Linked DNA regions of Homo sapiens: region 1 is linked to region 2. The links are contacts of gene promoters, found by promoter capture Hi-C in blood cells and fetal thymus (Javierre and others, 2016). All regions are on one chromosome and are shown on one strand. The core of a region is centred on a gene start or on the middle of the fragment in contact, and the rest is flanking DNA. Distances in the headings are between cores, read along the strand shown.

Region 1 (3,049 bases), core at 445-2,944, 180 kb after region 2:
AGGAAAGGTCATGAGAAAGATGACCATGTGTTGGTCATCTCATGGGATACACCTCTTTCAGGCATTTTTCTAATCTGTAAAAATAGGAAGAATAATGCCTATATTTCAGGGTTGTTAAGAGTTTGAGTTGACATTAATCACTAGATAAGTAAGAAAATGTCCATTATTGTTAGTGATGCATGTTGAGGTATGTAGGGGTATCATGCTGTAACACTAGGATTCACTTTAAAATACTTCAGCAAAAAAAAAAAAGGCTAGAGGCAAATGGGTGCAAAATCTTGATAATTGTGGAACTAGGGTCAGGGTCAGGGATATATGGCTATACATTGTAGTTTTCGCTTTATTTTTGTATATGTTTTTTGGTGTTTGTTTGTTTGTTTGTTTTTTGAGACGGAGTCTTACTGTATCACCCAGGCTGGAGTGCAGTGGAGCGATCTTGGCTCACTGCAACCTCCGCCTCCCAGGTTGAAGCAAATCTCCTGCCTCACCCTCCTGAGTAGCTGAGATTACAGGTGGGTGCCACCATGCCTGGCTAATTTTTCTATTTTTAGTAGACGGGGTTTCATCATGTTGGCCAGGCTGGTCTTGAACTCCTGGGCTCAAGTGATCTGCCTGCCTCAGCCTCCCAAAGTGCTGGGATTACAGGCATGAGCCACCGCACCCGGCCTGTATATGCTTTTAGGTTTCATTAAAACAGTTTTAAACAATAGCATTAGAAAAGTTTTTCAGGCCACAGTCATGCTGTCTCTTTGCAATTGCTTTTGTCAATCTACATGTCAAACAGAGCTCTCTTTTTCAAAAAAAAAGGTATTTATTTAGGAATATGGCATTGTGATAGTAATACATGTGCCATAGTAAACCATGATAAACTATGTGCATATTCCCACTGCAATGCCCTATTCAGGAATAAATAGTATTTTTTTTTTTTCTGAGACAGAGTTTCGCTCTTGTTGCCCAGGCTGGAGTTCAATGGTGCGATCTCGGCTCACTGCAACCTCTGCCTCCTGGGTTCAAGTGATTCTCCTGCCTCGGCCTCCCGAGTAGCTGGGATTACAGGCATGCACCACCATGCCCAGCTAATTTTGTATTTTTAGTGGAGACGGGGTTTCTCCATGTTGGTCAGGCTGGTCTCGAACTGACCTCAGGTGATCAGCCTGCCTCGGCCTCCCAAAGTGCTGGGATTACAGGAGTGAGCCACCATGCCCAACCAATAGTATTTATTTTAGAGATCCTTCTCTGTTTATTTGGGTAGTCTGAAATGGTGCCCAGAAGCAGACCTGGGACAAGATCACTTTCTGAAGGAATCAACAACTCTTAGAACCAGTGTGCAGTACTCACTTGAGCCATTTGAGCTCTCTGCTTCCACAGCTTACTTTCTCTTCTTTGGTGAGTCTTTTGTCAGGCAAAGTCTCCCTCATTTTGAGTTTTTTTTTTTTTTTTTTTACTTTATTCAGGATTTATTTTGGTTATAAGGCCATCTTCAATAAAGGACATTACATCCCTTCTGGTATAATAAAATACTTTTTGTCTCTTCTGCCAAGTCTTTTTTGGTATAAAGACAAGTGTCCTGGTTTGAGTACTCTGGTTTCTACAAAATTTATGTTCTGTCACTGAGGCATGTCTTTTCTGGTGAATTTGCCTTCGAGGTTTAGTTTGTTTGTTTGTTTTACTTTTTATTATTTCTGCATGACTCATTTAACATTTTATTTGATCTGCACAACCTGGGTTAAAATTTTTGTGAGCACTTTGATTTTGGTTTGGTTGTATGTGTCTGTAAGTAATTTGGCTCTTCTTCCTTGCTTGTATCCAAAAATCTTCCAAGAGCAAAAGTAAACAAAAATAGTGTGAGCAGGGTGGCTAAACTACCACTAGGGTGGCTGCCACTGTCTAAACACTGAACTAAACTCCTGGCATTCTCTGACAGAATTTATAGGATTGTCTTAGCTCTTGAGAGATTAATAAGAAACAGAATGGGATTCCCAAACATTAAAGCATGCCAAGTTCTCTGGACTCCAGCTGGTTACATATTATGGCCCATTCTTGTGTACATTTTAAAATCAATGGGCAAATTACATCAAGAAAAATTCAGAGATTTAATGGTCCTGATTGGAACTCTAAAAAACCTGCAATGATAAGAGTTACCATATAGAGCTAAGTTCTCTATCACTCTTTTTTCTCTGCCTACTTTGAATCTGCTGATTTTTTTCGCTGATGTTGAGATAAAACTCACTGTTTATGGCATTCCATCAAAGATTAAATTTTTCTAAAAAAGCTGTAAAAATTGTTAATGCTTCCCTACCTGCAGTGACTAGTCAAGCCAATGAAACCAGCAAACAAAAGATAGATTTGTTACTAAAAATTCAAGGCTATTGGAGATTTTGTTTTTCTTATACAGTTAAGCCAGCCAGTCCTAGCAAAACTTATTTGAAACTAAAAAAATAAAAAGGGGGTGGTGGTAAAGGAAATGTTTGCTTTATTTTATATATTTTATTTTATGTTTATTTTTATTTTTTTGAGATGGAGTCTCGCTCTGTTGCCCAGGCTGGAGTGTAATGGCGTGATCTTGGCTCACTGCAACCTCCGTCTCCCAGGTTCAAGGGATTCTCCTGCCTCAGCTTCCCGAGTAGCTGGGATTACAAGCACCCGCCATCAAGCCCAGCTAATTGTTGTATTTTTAGTAGAAACAGGGTTTCACCATGCTGGCCAGGCTGGTCTCGAACTCCTGCCTCGGCCTCCCAAAGTGCTGGGATTACAAGTGTGAGCCACTGCGCCAGGCTATTTTATATATTTTAGAGACAAGGTCCCACTCTGTCACCCTGGTTGCAGTGCAATGGCACCTTCTTAGCTCACTGCACCGTTGAACTCCTGAGCTCAAGGGATCCTTCTGCCTCAGCTAGGACTATAGGCATGTTGCATCATGCCCAGTTAATTAAAAAAAAAATTATAGAGATGGGAGTCTCACTATGTTGCCTAGACTGGTCTTGAATTGCTGGCCTCAAGCAATCCTCCTGTCTTGGCCTCCCAAAGTGCTGAGATTATAGGGATTACC
Region 2 (2,700 bases), core at 75-2,574:
ACCAGAAGGCCTCGGGCTGCGGAAAGACTAGCACGCACTGGCGCCGGCCCTGCTCGTCGTCTAGCCGGGCGAAGACTGCGAAGGGCAGCACGACGAGTGTGACGATCCCCCACACGGCCAGGCTCACCGCGCGCGCGGCGCTGTAGGTGCGGCCGGCCACCCGGCGCGACTCCGCAGTGGCCAACACCACCAGGTAGCGGTCGGCGCTCATGACGGTGAGGAAGTAGAGGCTGGAGAAGGTGTTGTACTGGTCGATAGCCACGATGAGCTTGCACATGAGCTCCCCGAAGGGCCACTGCCGCAGCAGGAAGTCGGCGATGTTGATGGGCAGCACCAGCGTGAAGAGCTCGTCGGCGATGGCCAGGTTGAGGATGAACAGGTTGGTGACGGTCTTCATGCGGGGCGCCCGCAGCAACACGTACAGCACGGCGGAGTTGCCCGCCAGACCCACGGCGCAGATCACCGCGTAGACAACTGGTACAGCCACCGCCAGCGGCGCCGGCAGCGGCGCCAGAGTCGACGCGTTGGAGCAGCTCAGCGCCGGGTCCGGGCCCGATGCGTTGGCGGGCCAGGGCTCCGAGAACGAGGCGTTGTCCATCTCAACGAGGGCAGAGGAGCCGGCGACCTGGCGTCCCCCAAGGACGCCCTACGGAGCTCAGCGGTCCTGAAGCCCGGTTCTGCACGGACCTGCTCGCGGACGCTCGTTTCAGCTCTCCAAGCCGTTCTCTGGTTTTTCCGGAGGAGGGGACCGTTCCCAGCCACCCCACGGCCCAATGTCGCCGCGGACTCACGGGGCTGGAAAGAGGAATTTAAAGCATAGGTTAGTTCGTCGACGTGTAACTTTAGAAATAGGCGCGGTCCCGAGGAGGGGTGGGGGTGGCGCCGCGGCGCCCCAAACCTCCTCCACGTGAGCGCTCTCTGCTACCTGTTGAAATCTCACTTCTACCAGTTGAATACATCAAACGAAATGCTAGAGAGAGAAGAATCCTCCATAGGAAAAATGCAAACCCTTCTCCCCTCTTTCAGGAAACTTCCGTAGACCCAGGTTACCCCACAGAATCCCGCAGTGGCAAGCTTCGGTCTCCCCAGGGTCTGTGCGCCCTCAGTAACAGCAAGCTCAACAGCAGTCTTTACCTTACCTGGCTGGCTGGGGAAGGGGTCTGCCTTTCCTGGAGCTGTCAGGAGAAAAGCCCGCCGGCTGCGGGGAGGCTGAGACGCCTGCCGGCTGGGTGTCCGCCTCCCCCTGTCTGCCTCCCCCGAGTTCGCCAGAGTCCGCAGCTCGCGTCCCCGCCGGTCCCTCCCGCGCGCCTGGAAGTGCAGGGATGGCGCAGCCGCGACTGCGTTCCACTGCCCTGACCGCCGCGCCCACCCCCACACCCCAAGTAAAATGGTCTTAGAACAGAGAACAGAAATTCCCCCAAATTTAAGGGATTCCTTTCTTCCATCCCAGTCGTGCAACCTCACTCCATCTGAAATAATAGAAAGCTCTCCTGTTAAGAATCGAATTTAAGGAAAACAAAGTTAGGGTGTAAGTGATCTATTTTTAAAGGAGAACAATGTAGTGGAGGCGCCTGTTCCATTTTTTATACACCGTAACACAAATAGGCTAATGTAATGTGAAATCTGAAAGGAGGAAAAAGTGAGTGCAATTTTATAATGCAAATCACCTGTTTTCTGCTACTCTGGTCTTCAAGGGGATAGAAGATTGTTAGTATGTTTTCTAAAACTACTTCTACTTCTACTTTTGTGTAAGTAAAGACTTGATTAGTAAAGACAAACGGCTTCCGCAAAGCCTTTTAGGGAACCATGACAATGCGTATTTCATAAAACGTTACAAGTTGTTCAACACACTCTCTACTTATCCACACACTTGCCCGATTCTCCTGCTAATGAGAGCTATCCTGCGATCGCAGCGGAGAGTAGCCAAGGAAGGACTAGCAGGGGCAGTCTTGAACTCCCCTGTCGCTATTTCCCTGGACTTTGGATTCTTTCTCTAGGAAGGGAAAATCATCTTAGGCTCCTCACCAGTTCCCCTAAGAATCGAATGAAATAAACTAAATATTGGTTATTTCCAATTTCTGCTTTTTTTTTTTCTCCACATTTCCTTTAGGAGAGAGAGCAAATTAAAACACGAGATTATATCCTCTAGTAAACTACCCTTCCACAAAAGCAGGCGAAGCCCAAATAAAGTGTATTTTTGGTCCTCTAGGATGCATCTTAGAGAAGGGGGCCTGAGATCCAGAGAGACCTAAAGTCGGCAGTAGAAGACTGTGGGGCCAGAAATACAGTAGCCCCCCCATACCTATGGGGGATAGGTTCCAAGAGCCCCAGTGGATGCCTGAAACCATGGATAGTACCCATTGCGGTCAATGGGAACATGTTTCTGTTCTTCCATCCAAAAATGATGCAACAGCAAAACTAGCATGCATTTCTTTTTTCTTCTTCACATTTTCGTGGATAGATTTGTTTTTAGTAGATCTTGGCAACCTCTGCATATGATTTTTTTTCTTTCCTTATTAAGTCCAGAATTTTTACCTTTTAACTTAAAGGAGGCATTTGCAGCTTCTCTTTGGCATATCTGAATTGCCAGCATCACTTCTCTTGCACTTTGGAGCCAGAGAGAAATAAGGGCAAAAAGTCAGTAAAATCAAGGCAACTTGAAGACACCACACTGGTCATTGCCACAGTCATCTAATAACC

What was found. Contacts are between HindIII fragments. The CHiCAGO score rates a contact against its expected background, and 5 or more counts as called.
Region 1: a contact is called between a fragment that was not itself captured here and the fragment with the promoter of NPBWR1 in region 2, in 3 of 17 cell types (total CD8 T cells, non-activated CD4 T cells and naive CD8 T cells). The highest score is 7.8, in total CD8 T cells.

Annotation. Positions count from the first base shown.
Region 1 is chr8:52,753,077-52,756,125 of GRCh38, reverse strand. All of the region lies in intron 2 of LOC105375835 (a long non-coding RNA gene), which reads right to left. Among named protein-coding and RNA genes, the nearest start is that of RB1CC1, 40 kb to the right of the region's middle. The HindIII fragment of the contact is 4,878 bases long and covers 1-3,049 here.
Region 2 is chr8:52,937,806-52,940,505 of GRCh38, reverse strand. NPBWR1 (neuropeptides B and W receptor 1) reads right to left here and starts at 1,324. Exons shown (of 2, transcript NM_005285.5): 1 at 1,140-1,324; 2 at 1-795. The coding sequence starts at 598. RefSeq lists enhancers at 1-517, 518-1,149. The HindIII fragment of the contact is 12,259 bases long and covers 1,077-2,700 here.